Linked DNA regions of Homo sapiens: region 2 is linked to region 1. Evidence: promoter capture Hi-C in human tissues and cell types (Jung and others, 2019). All regions are on one chromosome and are shown on one strand. Each heading gives the region's core, a stretch centred on a gene start or on the middle of the fragment in contact. The rest is flanking DNA. Distances are from core to core; before and after follow the strand shown.

Region 1 (4,282 bases), core at 1,338-3,837:
GCTGCAGTGAGCTATGACTTCAGCCTGGGCAACAGAGGAAGAACCTCTCTCTAAAGAAAAAAAGAAAGAAAGAGAGAGAGAAAGAGACAGAGAGAGAGAGAGAGAGAGAGAGAGAGAGAGAGAGGGAGGGAGGAAGGGAAAGAAAAGAAGAAAGAAAGAAATTCTCTTCCTCTTACACTGAGCACACCAGGAACACAGGCAATGCTTTTTCTCTATATGCTCTACATCACCTAAATATAGTGTTGAGGACATAAACTAGTGATCAATAAATGGTTCTTGCAGTGAATTTCCATAATCAAAACCCACGGTAATCACCAGCCAAATTTTGCAGGAAACAAGCACTCCTTTCTCTCATTGTCCAGGGGCAGAGCAGATGGGGTGGCATATAAGGGCCACATAACCTTCCGTGGTAGGAAGTGATGTCAGACAAGAGGTTGTGAATATTTCATGTGGTTCAAATGAAAAGCACATTTAAGGAGACAGAGATGGTAACTGAGACATTGCTTATTGAAGAAGAGAATCTTTCACATCTGAAAAAACTCAAGTGCGTTAGAAGGTTTGACTACTCATGGCAAAATAGTTTTTGTGCTGATTTCACACTCTTACTGGTTTCTACTAAAAAAATGGAGCTTATCAACCACACAGGTGTCTACTCACTTACGGTTCTCACAGCTGGGATTGGACCACAGAGAAAGAAATAAAAGGCCTCCTGAGGCAATCACCAGCTCCTCTGCATCTAGAATCTGGCTCCAAAATGTTGCCTGCATTTACTTACTGTCTCTGTACTTGTGTCTTCTCTGAAGAACAATGCAAACTTCCAGCTGGGTTAAACCCAATTTAGCACAGCACTGTCCTTTAGATATTTTTAAAAACGTAAAGAGAAATGACCACTGTTCTCACGCTGTAATTTCAAAATGGCAATTTCCCTACTATATACTTGTTAAAAGTGAAAATTTTTTAAAAAGGTAAAAGGAAAAAAAAACCCCACTCAGCTGCTCAGTGAGGCAGAGTTAAAATATTCTGCAGAAACAGCACTTATGAAACAGGCAGAACCCCTGGGGCTACCAATTCATGAACACACAACTGGCAGTACAAGACAGGTGTATTGTCGTAGACTCATCACCCAGAAAAGCATTATTATTTACTTTTAACAATAAACATTTTATGATGGCACTCCGTTTTAGTGATAAATGACTGGGGAAAATAAAAAATGTGTATAGCAGAATCAAATATAGGCCCTCCCCGGGGGTTTCACTGGCTTTCTCTCACAGCTGCTGGCTACATTATTTCTTTTCCACTTACATTTTTACAGCATGGGGTTGGGGCGGGGGGGTGGCTCTTGGTTTTCTGGTTGTACCTGTCAGATTTGTTAATCAAATGAATCCAGTCCTACAAACGATGAGCCTGTGACAGCTGGCCTTTGGGGTTGGATTCTGCCCTGGGCAGCAAAGTGTCCCTTATTTGGGTATTTTTTTCCAGGTTGAAAACTCGGCACTTAAAATTTAGCATCTTACCACTGTGAAATAACAGGCATTCCGAAAGAACTTCGGCATCTGATGCCTTTCCGGGAACACTTGGGCCACTCTCCTTAACCTTTACCGGCAGTTTTAAATACTACAATGCAGGTACAAGCAGAAAAGCCAAGGATGCGGGCTATGCAAAGCCACTCTGTGACTCTACCTACTGCCATGGGAACGTACTTATGGATGTGGCATGTGAGTGTGTGTGTATGTGTGAGTGGGTTTGTGAAAGTGTGTGGATTCGTGCGAATACGTGTGTGAGTGCTTTGTGTGTATTTTTGGATGAATTTGTGAATGTACATGTGTGTTCATCTGTGTGTGTGTTTGATTATCTGCTTATGAGTCTGTATGATTGTGAACGTGTGAGTATATGTGTGCTGTTTGTGTGACTGTATGAGTGTAATGTGTGTATGAATGTATGTTTGAATGTGGGTTTGAGTGAATGTGTGGGTTGTGTGTGAATGTGTGTGTAAGTGAGCATATCACTGCGTGCATGTGTGTAGCTCCTTAAGTGTGTATCTGAATGTGGGTTTTATTTTTGTGCGCGGGAACGCACATTGTGGGTGTATTTGTCTATATGCATTTGTGCGTTGTGACTGTGTGTTGAGTGTGAGCGTTGTGAGAATGTGTATTTGTGTGTCATGAGTGTGTGCGCGTGTGTTTTTGTGCATATGTGCGCGCATTGTGTTTGTGTGCATTTGTGAGTGTATTTTTGTGCGTCTGAGTGTGTGCATTGTGGATCTGGGTGAATGTACTGGTCTGCGTGTGTGTGGGTGTGCGTGTGTGTGTGCGCGCGTTGTGCGCGAGTGTGCGAGCGCGTGTGAGCGGGTGTGTGGTGCGGCCGGGCGCCTCCACCTCCCTGATCCGCCCCATCCCGGCGGGCGCCCGAGCAGAGGCAGCGGCCCGGGCCGGGGCGGGCGAGGGAGGGACGCGAGCCGGGGCAAGCGGGCTGCGCCACCGCCGGCGCCGCGCCGACTTTGCCCTTTAAATCGGTCTCCAAGCCGATTACAGCTGAGCTCCCACGTGACGTTTTACCTTCTGTCTCCCGGAGCGCGTTGCCCGAGGACAGTCCTTCCCCGGCTGCCGCCCCAGCCCGCCGCGGGGGCTCGGCTCCCGCAACTTTGGGCGAAGCGGCGGCCGGCTCGGGCGCCCTCGCGGGGCCGCGCTCCACGCGGGCGTTGGGGGCTTGGGGGGCTCCGGGGGCTCGGCCGGGAGGGTGGTGGTTAGGGCGGAGAGCGTGCCTCGGCCCCAGCCCGCGCCCCTGCCACCGCGCGCCGCGGCCTCCCGAAAGCGGGCGGGGTGCCCTGCGCGCGGCGTGGGGAAAGGGGGCGCCCTTCGCCGGCCGGGACCTGAGCGGTCGCGCCCTCGAGGGAGCCAGCTGGGCCATGGCCGCGAGGCAGGGGTGAGACCGGCGGCCACCCGTGAGCCCTCCGCACCCGCACCATGCAGAAGAGCGTGCGCTACAACGAGGGGCACGCCCTGTACCTGGCCTTTCTGGCGCGCAAGGAGGGCACCAAGCGCGGCTTCCTGAGTAAGAAGACGGCCGAGGCGAGCCGCTGGCACGAGAAGTGGTTCGCCCTCTACCAGAATGTGCTCTTCTACTTCGAGGGCGAGCAGAGCTGCCGCCCGGCGGGCATGTACCTCCTGGAGGGCTGCAGCTGCGAACGAACGCCCGCGCCACCCAGGGCCGGCGCCGGGCAGGGAGGCGTCCGAGACGCGCTGGACAAGCAGGTACCGCGCGCCTTCTCTCCGCGGTCTCCCAGCCTTGATCGCCGCACTCCCTTGCCGTCCTAATCCGGGGATCAGGGGTCGGGGGTCGTGAAAGAGTGCGGGGACTATGCTCCGAAATCCCCCCGCGTCACCAGTGGCGGGACATCTCCACGCTCCTTCCGATCTTCATCCAGGGATTCTCCCATCTCCATACCCCTCCACCCCACTGCCAAGTGATCAGTCAGAATAGTGGCCCGACTTGCTTTCATTACCCTGGTAGAGGTCGAGTCGTTTCAGCTTCTCTGCCAACCATCTATTGCTTCTCTAGACCTGGCTCGCCAGATTTTTGTCTGGTGACATGTATTGACACCTGTTGGGTGTAGATTGGCAAGACGGAACTAACTTATTTGGAAAAGTTTGATTTCTGCCATACCCGGCTGGCGCGTGTAGATTTCTTTGCCTGCAGATGTTTGACCACTGGTTGGGCTGGGAACAAGCGGGGCTCCCAAGCCGGACAGACACTTTCTGTTGGTCATTTTCAATCAGTCTTTGTGATTTCGGTCAGTTGGCCTTGCTAACATTTGACCTGCTGGGTGTAATTATGAAGGTAAATGTGTATTCATATTCCTCAGGATTAATATTTGGTAGCCACATTCTTGCTATGTTTAAAAATGTGGGCATTTTTAAAGAACGCTTCTGTACTTTTAAATGAATGCTTTGAAAATGAATGCGACCTTTTAATTCTGGGTCATAATTTTATTAGTTTTGCTGTGTGCTCATGGTCGCGGGGTGGGGGAGAAAAACCCTTTAAGTCTTAGTGATCCCAGCCCCTCATTCCTGCAAACACAAAGTTTGTATGTTTCCAATCACCGTTTGGTTATTAAAGTTAAAGCAGACTAATTTTATGCCCCTAATGTTCTCATTTAGCTTCTCAATCCCCACCTTGATATGAAAAAGGCTGATTGTTTTTGCTGTTGCGTAAAAATATTCGCAGCTGAATTTTCCATGTGAGTTCAGATCAGACAGCATCTACCGCACACCACAGAGGCTGT
Region 2 (4,282 bases), core at 994-3,493, 100 kb before region 1:
ATGTCTCCTTTTTTTCAGGGTGCATTTCTAAGCTTCAGTGTAAAATTTTGTTTGTGTCAAACTTTCTATCCCTGTCATTTCCATCTAACTCTCTCCTTTAGTTTACTTTCTCTATCTTGTTCATTTTGGTCTCTGCTTTTCAAATCTCCCCTTCATGGCACCTCTCCTTAGGTCTTTCCCTTCTCTGGTCTTTCTTTCTGTTTTCCCCCCCATTTTCTTGCTCCTTTGTCATTGTGTCTTCCCTCATTTTCATTTCTTTCTCTCTTCCTTAAATAGCCAATAAAATCATATTTTTAATATTTCTTTTCAAAAAGCAACACAAAAATAAAATGTATTTTTCTTTAACCTTTTGTTGCCATTGGTGTTTTGGGGTTTAGTTTTGTTTTTAAAGCTTAATTTCCATTTAATTTTTTTCCAGAAGATAGTTTTTCTTCAGTCTTTAGAGACTCAGCTCCATGAACAGGCTTTGATGGAGATCATGGGGCAGCATCCTCAGATCTAAATTGGAGCAGAGTTGTTTGGTCCTCTAGGCTTCATGAGAATGATTCCTGACTACCTTGCTGTGAGCGGCAGAACTTGTGCAGTAATACAGTTTCATACACTGTTTGGGAAGCACAGAGACATCAACGACACTCAATTTGGAAATGTCCCTGACAGCTGTACCTTCTACTATATTTCAAATGACAAACTTCTAAATAGCCTTGTCCTTAGGTGTGCATCCAACACAGTTTGTGCAGCAAATAGGTTGTACCTAGCTATGGCCCTTTTTGGCACAACCGTTGTTGTTGTTCCTCCTCCTCCTCTTCTTTCTCTTCCTCCTCCTCCTCTTTTTTTTTTTTTTTTTTTTTTTCTTTTTTGAAATGGGTTCACTCTGTCACTCAGGCTGCAGTGCAGTGGCATGATCATGGCTCACTGCAGCCTCGACCTACCTGGGCCCAGGTGATCCTTCCACTTCGGCCTCCCGAGTAGCTGGGACTACAGGCACACACCAACCATACCCAGCTAATTTTTGTATTCTTTTAGGAATGGAGTTTCACCGTGTTGCTCAGGCTAGTCTTGAACTTTCAGGCTCCAGTGATCCACCTGCCTTGGCTTCCCAAAGTTCTGGGATTATAGGCATGAGTTACCATGCCCAGCCTCCCTTCTTTTCTTTGTTATTTTGGCAGTGAAGACCCAAGAGTGACTCAGGTTTTGTTTAAACATTTATTTAGATTACATAGGTAATTATAACATTTTGTTTTTTTTAAGGAATTTTTTGTTTTGCTTTAAAAAATTTATTTGCAAAAAGATGTAACTCAGAAACTTTAATCATTATAGAAACTACGTAGGAAATGATGAGTTCATGTCCTTTATAGGGACATGGATGAAGCTGGAAACGATCATTCTCAGCAAACTATCGCAAGGACAAAAAACCAAACACCGCATGTTCTCACTCATAGGTGGGAGTTGAACAATGAGAACACATGGGCACAGGAAGGGGAACATCACAAACTGGGGCCTGTTGTGGGGTGGGGGGAGGGGGGAGGGATAGCATTAGGAGATATACCTAATGTTAAATGACGAGTTAATGGGTGCAACACACCAACATGGCACATGTATACAAATGTAACTGACCTGCACATTGTGCACATGTACCCTAAAACTTAAAGTATAATAATAATAAAAAAAAGAAACTACATAGGAAAGCAATTGACTTTTGTACATTAACCTTGGATCCTGCAACCTTGCTGTAATCACTTACTAATTCCAGTCTGTGTGTATGTTTGCCAATTCTTTTGAATTTCCTACATAGGCAGTCATGTCAGATACAAACAGACAGTTTCACTTCTTTCTTCCCCATCTATTTTTTTTTTCTTGTCTTATTGCAGTAACTAGGACTTTCAGTACAGTGTTGAAAAAGCAGTAAGAAAGGATATCGTTGCCTTGTTTCTGATCTTAGTGGGAAAGCTTTGAGTTTCTCACCGTTAAGTATGATGTTAGCTAGAGGTTGTTTGTGGATATTCCTTACCAAATTGAGGAAGTTCTCCTCTATTCCTAGTTTACTGAGAGTTTTTATTGAATGGGTGTTAGATTTTGTCAAATGCTTTCTGTGCATCTATTGATATGGTCATGTGATTTTTCTTCTTTAGCCTGTTGATGTGATGGATTACGTTAACTGGTGTTCAAATGTTGAATGAGTCTTACACACTTGGGATGAGTCCTACTTGGTTATGGTCTGTTTTTCTTTTTATACATTGTTGGATTCATTTTGCTAATATTTTATTGAGGATTTTTGCATCTATGTTTATGAGAGATACTGGTTTATAGTTTTCTTATAATGTCTTTGGTTTTAGTATTAAGGTAATGCTGGCCTCATAGAATGAGTTAGAAAGTATTTACTCCACTCCTGTCCTCTGAAAAAGACTATAGAGAATTGGTAAAATATCTTCCTTAAACATTTGGTGGAGTTCACCAGTGAAGCCATCTGGGCCTATGATTTTGGTTTTAGAAGGCCATTGACTCAAGTTCTTCAATAGATATAGACCTATTCAGAATTTCTGTTTTTTTTCTTGTGTGAGTTTTGGCTCATTGTGTCTTTTAAGGAATTGTTTTTCAAGAAATTTTCACCAAGGTTACCAGATTTGTGGACATAGAGTTGGTCATAGTATTCCTTTATTATCCTTTTATTTGTCCACGGCATCCGTAGTGTTGTCCTTTTCATTTCTGATATTAGCCATTTGTGTCTTTTCTCTTTTGTTCTTAGTTAGCTTGACTAGAAGCTTATCAGTTTTCTTTTCAAAGAACCAGCTTTTGGTTCTATTGATTATTTTCCCCATTGCTTTCTTGTTTTAATTTCATTGATTTCTGCTCTAATTTTTATTATCTCTTTTCTTTTGCTTATTTTTGCTCTTCTCTTTCTGGTGTCCTAAGATAGAAGCTTAGATTGTTTATTTTAAATTGTTCTTTTTTTCTAATGTGTTCAGTGCTATAAATTTTCTTTTTTTATTCTTTCTTTTCTTTCCATTTTTTCTTTTTTGAGACAGGGTCTTGCTCTGTTACCCAGGCTGGACTGCAGTGGCATGAACATAGCCCACTGCAACCTCGACTCCCTGGGCTCAAGTGATCCTTCTGCCTCAGCCTCCCATGTAGCTGGGACTACAGGCACATGCCACAACACCCAGCTAATTTCACTTTTATTTTTTATAGAGATTGGGGTCTCACTATGTTGCCCAGGCTGGTCTCGTATTCTTGGACTCCAGTGATCCTCTTGCCTTGGCCTCCCAAAGTGCTGGGATTACAGGTGTGAGCCACCGCTCCTGGCCTATAAATTTTCTTCTATGCACTGCTTTTGGTGCGGTTCCACAAATTTTGATAAGGTGTGCTTCCTGTTTTTACTTAGTTCCAAATATTTTAAATTTCTCTTTATTTCTTTTTTGACCCATATGTTTTTTAAGAATGTGTTGTTTAGTCTCCATGTATTTGGGGATTTTCCAGTTACCTTTTTGTTATGATTCCTAGTTTAATTCCATTGTGGTATGAGATCAAATATTGTATGATTTTTATTATATTAAATTTGTCAACATGTGTTTTATGGCCCAAAATGTGGTCTTTCTTGGTGAATGTTCCATGTTAGCTTGAGATGAATGTGTATTCAGCTGTTGGTTGAAGTATCTATAGATATAAATGATGTCTAGTTGATTGATGGTGTTGTTGAGTTCAGCTGTGTCCTTACTGATTTTCTGCCTGCTGGATCTGTCTGTTTCAGATGGAGGAATTTTGATATCTCTAACTATAGTAGTATGTTCATCTGTTTCTCTTTGTAGTTCTATCAGCTTTTGCCTCATGTAGTTTGACATTCTCTTGTTAAATGCATACATGTTAAGGATATTATGTCTTCTTGGACATAAGACATAATATCCTTTATCATTTTATCATTATCCCTTTATCATTATATAATATCCTTCTTTATCCCTGACAAATTTACTTGATCTGAAGTCTGCTCTGTCTCAAATTAATATAGCTACTCTAACTTCCTTTAGAAATTAATATAGCTGCTTCAGCTTTCTTTAATGTTAACATGATGTATCTTCCTCCATATATATATATATATTTTAGATAGAGTCTCACTCTGTCACCCAGGCTGGAGTGCAGTGGTACAATCTCAGCTCACTGCAACCTCTGCCTCCCAGATTCAAGTGATTCTTGTGCCTCAGCCTCCCGAGTAGCTGGGATTACAAGTGTGTGCCACCACGCCTGGCTAATTTTTGTATTCTTTTTAAATTAAAGATGGGGTTTCACCATG

The links. The method cuts DNA at HindIII sites, captures the fragments that hold promoters and counts their contacts. A contact is called where the count stands out against the background at its distance.
Region 2: a fragment that was not itself captured here is called in contact with the fragment with the promoter of RASGRF2 in region 1 in 2 of the 25 tissues and cell types used here (H1 embryonic stem cells and adrenal gland).

The regions. Positions count from the first base shown.
Region 1 is chr5:80,957,776-80,962,057 of GRCh38, forward strand. RASGRF2 (Ras protein specific guanine nucleotide releasing factor 2) reads left to right here and starts at 2,588. Exons shown (of 27, transcript NM_006909.3): 1 at 2,588-3,251. The coding sequence starts at 2,964. It overlaps RASGRF2-AS1 (RASGRF2 antisense RNA 1), which reads right to left and starts at 3,132. Exons shown (of 4, transcript NR_105015.1): 1 at 3,006-3,132. RefSeq lists an enhancer at 2,691-3,412. The HindIII fragment of the contact is 17,436 bases long and covers 1-4,282 here.
Region 2 is chr5:80,855,047-80,859,328 of GRCh38, forward strand. The region is part of intron 21 of MSH3 (mutS homolog 3); the gene reads left to right. It also overlaps the pseudogene RPS26P27. Among named protein-coding and RNA genes, the nearest start is that of RASGRF2, 100 kb to the right of the region's middle. The HindIII fragment of the contact is 4,064 bases long and covers 212-4,275 here.